Linked DNA regions of Homo sapiens: all the other regions are linked to region 2. The links are contacts of gene promoters, found by promoter capture Hi-C in blood cells and fetal thymus (Javierre and others, 2016). All regions are on one chromosome and are shown on one strand. The core of a region is centred on a gene start or on the middle of the fragment in contact, and the rest is flanking DNA. Distances in the headings are between cores, read along the strand shown.

Region 1 (3,126 bases), core at 78-2,577, 390 kb before region 2:
ATGATTGGACTGGCCCCTTCTCTGGCACTTCCACCACTGTCATGAGAATGTGCCAGGAAGCACATTCCTGTGCCTACTGGAAGAGGAGAGACTTATGGAGCACAGCTGAGTCATCCCAATTGCTCCCATTGAGGACAACCTAGATCAGCCAAGAGCCAGCCAACTCCAAGATACTGAGTGAGCCCAGCCAAGATCAGCAGAGCTCTGGCCAAGTCCCAGCTGATTCTAGATAAACGAGTAAATGCTTAATCCTGTATGCCACTGAGGTTTTGGGGTTGTTTGTTATTCAGTATTATCATAATAATGGTTAATGGATATAGATCCTTTGCCACAGTTCTTCACTGACTCCAGAGATGTCAGAACTGCAGGGAATACAGAGCCCTTTTGAGGGATCACATCTTTGCCAACTCTGGGAGACAGTCTCATTGCCATAGGCACCATAGATGTTTTGAAATGAACATTAATAATCAGTCTCAAAGAGAAATAATTTCCTTGTACAACAGACCTCACACACACACACATTAAAAAAAGATTGCGTGACCCCTATAAGGTTTCCAAAGGATTTCAGGTATTATATTATCTAAATCAATCTTGTTCAAATTATGAGTTGCAATTCCTTCGTAAGCAGTGACATCTGTTTAATGGATCTTGACTTGTTGTTTTTGGGGAACAGAATGGAATGGAATGAAAAATATCAGAGTATGTAATAAATAATAAGAATTATTTCCTTAAATTTTTTTTCAGGTTTGTGTGTGTGTAAGAGGGAGAGGGAGGAAGGAAGGGATGGAGAAGTAGTAGTAGTAGTAGGTCACAATACATAAATATTTCTTACTTTAGGTATTGTTCAAAAATGTTGAAAGCCATAGGCTAAAAGAAGGTAACTACATAGCATTTTACTATTAACTAAACCTCAGCATCGAAGCCCAGCACAGGAAATATGAGAAGGAGACAGTTAAGAGAAGGGAGAGAAGGAATCCATGGGCTAGAATAATTAATAGGAAAAGTAGCTTTCGCTAACATTTTAGGATTTGAAAAACACTTTGCCTATTTTATCTCATTTGAGTCTTATAACTGCACCATTTTACAGATGAAGAAATTGAGGCTCAAAGAAGTTAAGTCTTTAGTGTGAAGGTAACATGATAAGTCACAAAGCTGAGAAGACAAGCCAGGTCTTTGTCTCCTATTCCACATTCCAACTATATCTTCACCAGCTCCAACACATCCTTGAGATCTCTCTCAAATTACTACCACATCCTCAGTCTTTCCCCATCTTCAAAATCCAAATTAAATGCCCTCTTTATACACCCCCTAATAGTGTCCTTTGCCTTCACTGAGCTAATGAAATTTCCTTATTTGGGTGATTATTTCATATCTCTCTCTTCTACTAGCCTATCCCACTGCCATTCCATAAGAAAGGAGCCTTGTCTGCTTGGGTCACTCCAGTACACCCAGCACCTAATGTAGTACTGGGCACAAAGTAGGCACTCAATAAATAGCTGCTGAATAAATGAATATGAGTTACACGACCTGGGACAAGGAAAGTGAGCCAACTCTTCCATTCTCCAATTACAACCACAAATCAGTTGTATCCTTATTTGCCTGAAAAAGACAAAAACTGCATAGTTTCCAAAATATATACCCACATAACCAGGAGGAATAGTGACCAGAGGGTGTTTCCCAATCTGTTAGGTGCCTCTTTGCTGGAGAGAACTACAAACTGAACCAGAATCCAGATACTCAGCAGTTCCTGGGGGTTGGAAAACCTGCTCAGATTCTGGGCCTTTTTCTTAGGTCAGCAGAGATTTTCCATGCTTGCGGTCAAACTGAGAATTCCACCATTCTCTCCCACTTGCTTTCCCGCGTAGATCTTTCTAAACACTTCACTTCCATCAGCTGATGTCATGGATGCTGTGGGCCCCATGGTACACCCCCAGCTGCTGATGGCTCTCGGCTGAATCTTTCTTGGGAAACTGCCCGCAAAGAGAATTCCCCAGGGTCACATTCATTCCTCGTGGCAGCTTGCATCCAGGCAATGATGGCAGGTTACAATAGCTTTGTTGTGGGACAATGTTGAAGGACTGTCCCAGCTCCAGGTATCCCTCTGTGAGGGCTGAGGCCATGTTTGTGCATCATCACAGCTCATATCTTCCCTCTGCCTGGTTATGCTTCCCTCCATCTACCACACACACACACCATACATACGGATCCCAACTGCTCTCCCCAGGAAACTTCTTGCATGCACATCTCTGGCTCAAAATCTATTTCCCAGAGAACCAGAACTAAGACAGCTAAGCTCCCTCTTGAGTCAGTACCATGGTTGCTGGGATTTTCATTTGGTTTTTAATATCAAAACAATGTCTGTGGAAACGTTTGGACACTTATATATCACAGACAAATAATATTCCTGTAACAGGGCATAAGCAGACTTCCCACTTATAACTGGTGGTAAAGAAAATTTTCTTTATAGAGTACTGTTTTGGGAACTCAGAGGCGTGTTTTGATAAAAACAGTATTGCCAAGAATCTTTAAGAAGAGGATTATTCCTATCCTTCAAAGCATCTGCCTGTTAGTGACCACAAATTATTTGGTATAATATTTTTTGTTACCTGTGTCTTGTACTGAATCCCAAGCTCCATGACTGACAGCATGGGCATCACTTGGAAGCTTGTTAGAAATGCAGAATCTAGGCCAGGTGTGGTGGCTCACGCATGTAATCCTAGCACTTTGAGAAGCCGAGGCAGGTGGATAACTTGAGGTCAGGAGTTCAAGACTAGCCTGGCCAACATGACGAAACCCTGTCTCTACTAAAAATACAAAAAAAAAAAAAAAAATTAGCCAGGTGTGTTGGTGCATGCCTGTTATTCCAGCTACTTGGGACGCTGAGGCACAAGTGCTTGAATCCAGGAGGCAGAAGTTGCAGTGAGCCAAGATCATGCCACTGCACTACAGCCTGGATGATGGAGTGAGACTGTCTAAAAAGAAAAAGAAAAAGAAAAAAGAAAAAAAAAAAGAAATGCAGAATCTCACTACCCCTTGCCCAGACCTACTGGATGAGGATCTGCAGTTTAACAAGAAGTCCACTGGGCTTATATTGACACTAAAGTTTGAGAATCACTGGCCTAAACT
Region 2 (3,014 bases), core at 178-2,677:
AAATTTAACACTGACAGGAGCATATGTGTTTTAAAACACAAGAAATGGGATGAATCTCAGATTGCCTGGAAATAGTCATTTAAATGAAAAAGTTTTTAAATTTAAGAGATAATAGAAAAGTTAAAAGGACACACCAGATGGCATTTTCACTCACCAGGATTAGAAATAATCATCCAAACAAATAAAAAGTGTATCAAAGTTATTTTTCACATTTATTTATATCAGAGAGATAAAGCAGTCATTTTACCTTGCACATAAGGACCACTTATGAAATCATTTATATAATTTGAGAAGGCATTTACTATGTCTATAAAAATTCATAAATTAAACTGTCACATTAATTCAATCATTTATAGCAAACTCTCCTTCCATTAATATATTTTACTTTAAAAAATATTTACTTTTTGGTTTGGACTAAAATCTCATTCAATTCAGTGATAGTACTTAACATTTTCCCACTGCAATTATGTGAGATTTTCTGCTTCAAAGACATTTTTTAAGTTACTTCCTTCAAATTAATGTGTAACTATCCTTCTCTTTGCAAACTATACAATCAGGAACCACTTTATGTATTTTATTAAATAAGCTAAAAATTGCAAATATTTAATTTTCATTTATAGTGGATTCAGTGAAAAACATAAAAATTATTTCAGTTCAAGGCATATTTGTCATTACTAATGAGTTAACATAAAATATTATCTCCCTAAATATTTTCTAATTCAATGCCAAACATACCATATGCAATATCATCATCTCCAGAAAGTGCTAATCCAGCTATATAAACAGCATATTTGTCTTGATCTTTTCCTAATACAACCCAATACTATTCATGCATCTGTTTTTCCTCCAGGCATAGACTACTGGAGCTAGAAGGGGCTCCAGAAGGATCTAATCTGACCCATCCTCTCCTCATTAAAGTGTGGTTTTAAAAACGTGATACCAAGTCTCTCACACATTGGCAATACGAAGCTACTCAGAAAGGAACTAAAGTTCGCATTCAAACTTTACCTTTGTAAAATTCCCAAAGAATCTCCCACGGCGTTCTTCACTCCTTCCTTCCCAGGTTTCAGAATTTTTTCTTTGAAGGTATCAAATGCTTTAAAAGGCATTTTGAATGAGGGGCACCTCTGAGCCGTTAACAGTCAGTCTCAAAAACTGTCATCCTTCCTCATTTCCAGTGTGAGAACCACCTTGTTTCCCTTGGTGAACACCTGGAAGTCAGTTCTCGTGGAGGGAACTACTCAAAATCAAAAAGGAGATGAAACCCAGCTCGGATCTTCCAAGATAAGACAACTCCCTCCTCTCTCTGCTCCCCACCCCTCCAAAAAAGAGTCCAAGGGGTGTCTGGCTGGGAATTCAGTCCCTTGCAAAAGCTGCACGCTCTGCAGCAGCCTGTGGCAGCTGTCTCAGGCAGCCACTCTCAGACTGAGCGCAGCCTCTCTCCCTCCCTGGGCTGCAGCTGGGGACGCTAACATGAGCTCCGGACCACCAGGAGTCCTGAGACCAGCAGCAGTATCCGTGGCCTAGCTCCAGCCCCTCCAGCCAGCCGCGTCCCCCTCCTGCCCCACCCCAGCTCGCCTGCCGCTCTCACCAAGTGAGACTTTCCAAGGTGATGCTATAGTAACCGGCACAATACCTGCCCCTCAGCCGCCTGGGCTTATGAATGGGCTCTCAGCCAGAGCAGGCACCCAGAGAGAAATTTATGAAACATTTACAGCCCTTTGCTTTTCTGAGGTCTGGCCCTGCAGACAGGCTCACAGCCACCACTCCATGCCTTTTATTCCCCTCATGAGAGTCATGAAGCCGTTTTTCAGCCAGCCACTAGCATGGATGTGGTCCCACGAGGAACTTGCATTTGAGTAGCCCAAATGCAAAACCCAGGCCACATACATCCAGGAGGACATTTATTTGCTCCTAATCAACAGAGCAGGCTCTCTCAAAGTATGATACGTAGATGCCATTTGGGACCATCTAATTGAAGATTTCTGAGCCGGAAGATATCTAGAACCTGCTTAGAACTCTCCACTGACTCCTCATTGTCCTCAGGATAAATAAAATTATTTTTGTTTTTTCCCCTTTTCTCCCTCTAGATGGACTTTTTTTTTTTTACTTTAAGTTCCAGGATACATGTGCAGAACATGCAGGTTTGTTACATAGGTATACATGTGCCATGGTGGTTTGCTGCACCTATCAACCCATCATCTAGGTTTTAAGCCCCACATGCATTAGGTATTTGTCCTAATGCTCTCCCTCTCCTTGCCCCCCAACCCCTGACCAGCTCCGGTGTGTGATGTTCCCCTCTCTGTATCCATGTATTCTAATCATTCTACTACAAAGACACATCCACACGTATGTTTATTGCAGCACTATTTACAATACAATTCTTTATCATGGCACACAAGGCCTTTCCCTGGGACCCTAAGTCTTTCTTCTTGTCACTCTGCTTTCCACATCCTCATTTCACTGAACTCAGCAAGCTCCCTATTGCCTCTGGGCTTTACTCAAGCTATGCCCTCTGCCTGGGTAACTCTCTGCACCCCTTCAACTGGGTAACTTCTAGGGGTTCTAAGGTCATGCTAAGATATCAATCCTCTAGAAAACTGCATGGGCAAGGTGAGATGTCCCTCCTCTGTGCCTCCAAATCACCTGTCCTCTGCCCTAGCAGAGCCTGGCAGGGAGTGGGCGTTACCTAAATACTTGTTGAACTGGGGCTGAAACGCTGCAAGTTGTGGCCACATTTATGGGCAGCAGGATGACGCCTCTGTAAATGCTGCTGCGGTGGAAAAAAAACTCTTCATCTTTGAGGCTCCTGTGTTCCAATCCTCCAGTCTGCATGCGACTGACAAATCATAGGCTATAGGCTCTCAGGCTCCCCAGGAGTCATTTCCACAAGACCAGTCAATATCCTCTGCAAGCCACTGTCCAAATTATCCAAAATTTGAATTAAGTTCAACTAAGTCCGTGCTGAATCCTTGGTAGGCTAAATATTGCTAATATCTTTTGAGTTCTTTCTA
Region 3 (3,399 bases), core at 432-2,931, 330 kb before region 2:
CTCAAGCTAGGAGTTTATGAACCCTTAGAAGCTTGTCCGTGAACTAAGAGGTGAATATTACACCTTCATCCCCCAATACTTGCATGTAAGACATCTACAGCTCTGCCCTTGGAGCAGCACAGTGCTACTACAAGGAAAAAACAAAAGAATCTCCACAGAGTGTGTGTTTTGCAAACAAATTCAAAGAAAAGTGAGCTGGATCAAAAACACTAGGACCTTGGAACTGATTCTCTTAGGGAGCAGAGACATGTGAAGGAGAGCAGAAAGCAAGGTAAAAATGTCCTGCTTACATAATGCAGACAGACAGGATTAGGCCTCAGGTGAGATCAAATTCTGGGCTGGGGCTGATGGTCCTATATTGCTAACATGGAGAACCTTGACTCTCAGCCTCTCACAGGGTCCTCTAGATTGAGTATCTGTATTCAACAAATCTGAAGAGCTTCTTTAGCTCAAGAATGTTTGTAGTCAACAAGATGACTCATTGAGAGAAACTGAACCTAATATGTCAGGAGAACTATTTATAGTTCTGGCACACACCCACCATCCGCACTTTACAAAGGATGCACAGTGGGTTCCATTAAGAGTTTCTACCCTTCTTCCTAAGGATGTGGTAAGAGAGCTTTCTCAAGGCAGGTTTTGTCCATATCCTCATCTGTGCATCCCACATTGCCCTCGTCACCACAGACCCCTTTTTAAATGTCTTAATTGTTCCTCCAGCACTTGCTCAAATTACAGCTCTCATTGAATTGGGTCTTTATCCATTGATTCCCGTAGGAAGCACTGAGTTCCTTAAACGTGCCTGTAAAGTGTTGACCGTGGATTTGTGACAACAGCACTTTCTCTTTATGCTCCAGCCCTAATTCTCTTGGCAAAATGGTATTTCCTCAGCTCCAGTGATGGCATTCTCTGCATTTTGTCAGCAGGAGGAGCATTTTAAACTCTCTTTGGCCAGAAGAGTTATTTGCTACTTGTGGTCTCTCCAAAAATGGATCGCCCATTAAAAAGGAACAGGAAAGTGATGGCACTTCCTATGTAGCTCCATTAAGTTTCCTCAGAAGCCATTGGTCAAGCTGTTACTCTTTAATCACTTCATGACCAACATCATGTGGGTGCACTAGGTGTTCTGCTAGCTCTGACATGGTGTCATCCTAGGTGGAGCCAAACCCATAAAATCTGAGTGATAGGAAAGACAGTCCGAGACATCCTGAAGCTTGCCTGGAATGTCTCTTAGGCTCAGCCAAGTATATTTCACAGGTGTCCTGGAGCTAGCTCATATAATCTCACAAGAAGAGATTGCTAAATTTTCAGGAGTTTTGCAAGCCTATTGCTGAATTGTTGGTTGCTTAAAATCAGCCTGGTGGAAATATTTACATTGAGGAAATCAGCAAACACTAAAATTCAGAGCTTTTCCTCCCAACCCCTGCCAGCTAAATATTCACCAGCATACTATTATTAGTAATGGGATCTTAGTGCACTATAGCATGGTGATTACACACATGATTTTACAGGTTGATTTGAACTAAAGTCCTAGCTGTACGCTTATTATATTACTCAATTTTAGTTTCCAAAAGTAAAAGTGATATTTAAAAAAATAAATTTTACCAGTCATATTAAATTAGAGAAAAAATTCCTATTACTGGATAACTGATTTCCCATTCCTCATGTTTCCATTTGTGGAACTTCCATTAGGGTAGAACTCAGGGATTTTCTGTGATTCCCAAAGAAGAAGGAGTGACTTACATGATTGATGAATTTAGAAGAGCTCAGCATGGGCAACTGCCATCCCAGCACATGGCATCACACCTCATGGCCCAAGATAATTGCTTGAGCATCCCTGTCATGTATACAGGACAACCAGCAGGAAGGAGGAAGGCACAAAGAAGTGCATGCCACTTTTCTTTAAGTACACTTCCCAAACATTACACATGACACTTGTGTTTCTAACCCACTGGCCAGAACTTAAGCATATGGCCACTCAAACTGAAAGGGAAGCTGGAAATGTTTTTATTCTAGCAAGCCACATGCCCAACTAAAAACCGGAATTTCTTTTAATATCAAAGAAATGCATTGAATAATGGAAAATGGGGGAAATTAATAATCTCTGCCACATCATGTAAATATTAGACACAGAGCTTTGCTCATAGTAAGCTTTCAGTGACTATCACCCATAGTTATTTTCTTATCAAAAGCATCCAAGTTACTCTGTACCTATATGCCTATAATTATATGGAATGTTCAAAGCCAAAATCTTCCTTTGACTAAAGATTTTTGTTACTATTTTCTAGAGCCTGGTGTTTAAAATTCAAACACCCCTTAGAAGGGCCAGTACACTGAAAGAGAGAAGTGTTTAATGTATTAGCATTTCATATGGTTTGGCTATGTCCCCACTCAAATCTCATCTTGAATTATAGTTCCCATAACCCCCATGTGTCATGGGAGGGACCTGGTGAGAGGTAATTGAATCATGGGGTGATTACCCCTTTGCTGTTCTTGTGATAGTGAGTGAGTTCTCATGAGATCTGATCGTTTTATAAGGGGTTTTCTCCCTTTTCGTGGCACTTCTCTCTCCTGCCGCCATGTGAAGAAGGACATATTTGCTTCCCCTTCCACCAGGATTGTAAGTTTCCTGAGGCCTCCCCAGACATGCAGAACTGTGAATCAATGAAACCTCTTTCCTTTATAAATTACCCAGTCTCAGGCAATTCTTGATATCAGCATGGGAACAGACTAGTACAGTAAACTGATACTGCAGAGAGTGTGGTGCTGCTATGAGGATACCTGAAAATGTGGAAGCAGCTTTGGAACTGGGTAACAGACAGAGGTTGGAACAGTTTGGAGGGCTCAGAAGAAGACAGAAAAAATGTGAAAAATTTTGGAACTTCCTAGAGACTTGGAGGGCTCAGAAGACAGAAAGATGTGGGAAAGTTTGGAACTTCCTAGAGACTTGTTGAATGGCTTTGATCAAATTGCTGATAGTGATATGGACAATGAAGTCCAGGCTGATGTGGTCTCAGATGGAGATGAGGAACTTGCAGGGAATGGGAATAAAGGTCATTCTTGCTTTAGCAAAGAGACTGGCAGCATTTTGCCCCTGCCCTAGAGATCTGTGGAACTTTGAACTTGAGATAATTTAAGGTATCTAGTGGAAGAAATTTCTAAGCGGAAAAGTGTTGAAGAGGAAGCAGAGCATAAAGGTTTGGGAAATTCACAGCCTGACAATGCAATAAAAAAGAAACCCATTTTCTGGGAAGAAATTCAAGCCTGCTGCAGAAATTTGCATAAGTAACAAGGAGTCAAATGTTAATAACCAAGACAATGGGGAAAATGTCCCCAGGGCATGTCAGAGACCTTGGCAGAAGCCCCTCCCATCACAGGCCAGGAGGCCTAGAAGGGAAAAAT

Evidence for each region. Contacts are between HindIII fragments. The CHiCAGO score rates a contact against its expected background, and 5 or more counts as called.
Region 1: a contact is called between a fragment that was not itself captured here and the fragment with the promoter of SLC17A8 in region 2, in 1 of 17 cell types (M1 macrophages). The highest score is 5.8, in M1 macrophages.
Region 3: a fragment that was not itself captured here is called in contact with the fragment with the promoter of SLC17A8 in region 2 in 3 of 17 cell types (M2 macrophages, M1 macrophages and M0 macrophages); the score reaches 6.0 in M2 macrophages.

Annotation. Positions count from the first base shown.
Region 1 is chr12:100,750,004-100,753,129 of GRCh38, reverse strand. It overlaps a transcript of ANO4 not described here. Among named protein-coding and RNA genes, the nearest start is that of ANO4, 43 kb to the left of the region's middle. The HindIII fragment of the contact is 2,678 bases long and covers 1-2,666 here.
Region 2 is chr12:100,355,487-100,358,500 of GRCh38, reverse strand. SLC17A8 (solute carrier family 17 member 8) reads right to left here and starts at 1,427. Exons shown (of 12, transcript NM_139319.3): 1 at 1,009-1,427. The coding sequence starts at 1,109. RefSeq lists enhancers at 976-1,476, 1,477-1,977. The HindIII fragment of the contact is 7,240 bases long and covers 1-3,014 here.
Region 3 is chr12:100,685,800-100,689,198 of GRCh38, reverse strand. No RefSeq gene overlaps it. Among named protein-coding and RNA genes, the nearest start is that of ANO4, 110 kb to the left of the region's middle. The HindIII fragment of the contact is 938 bases long and covers 1,213-2,150 here.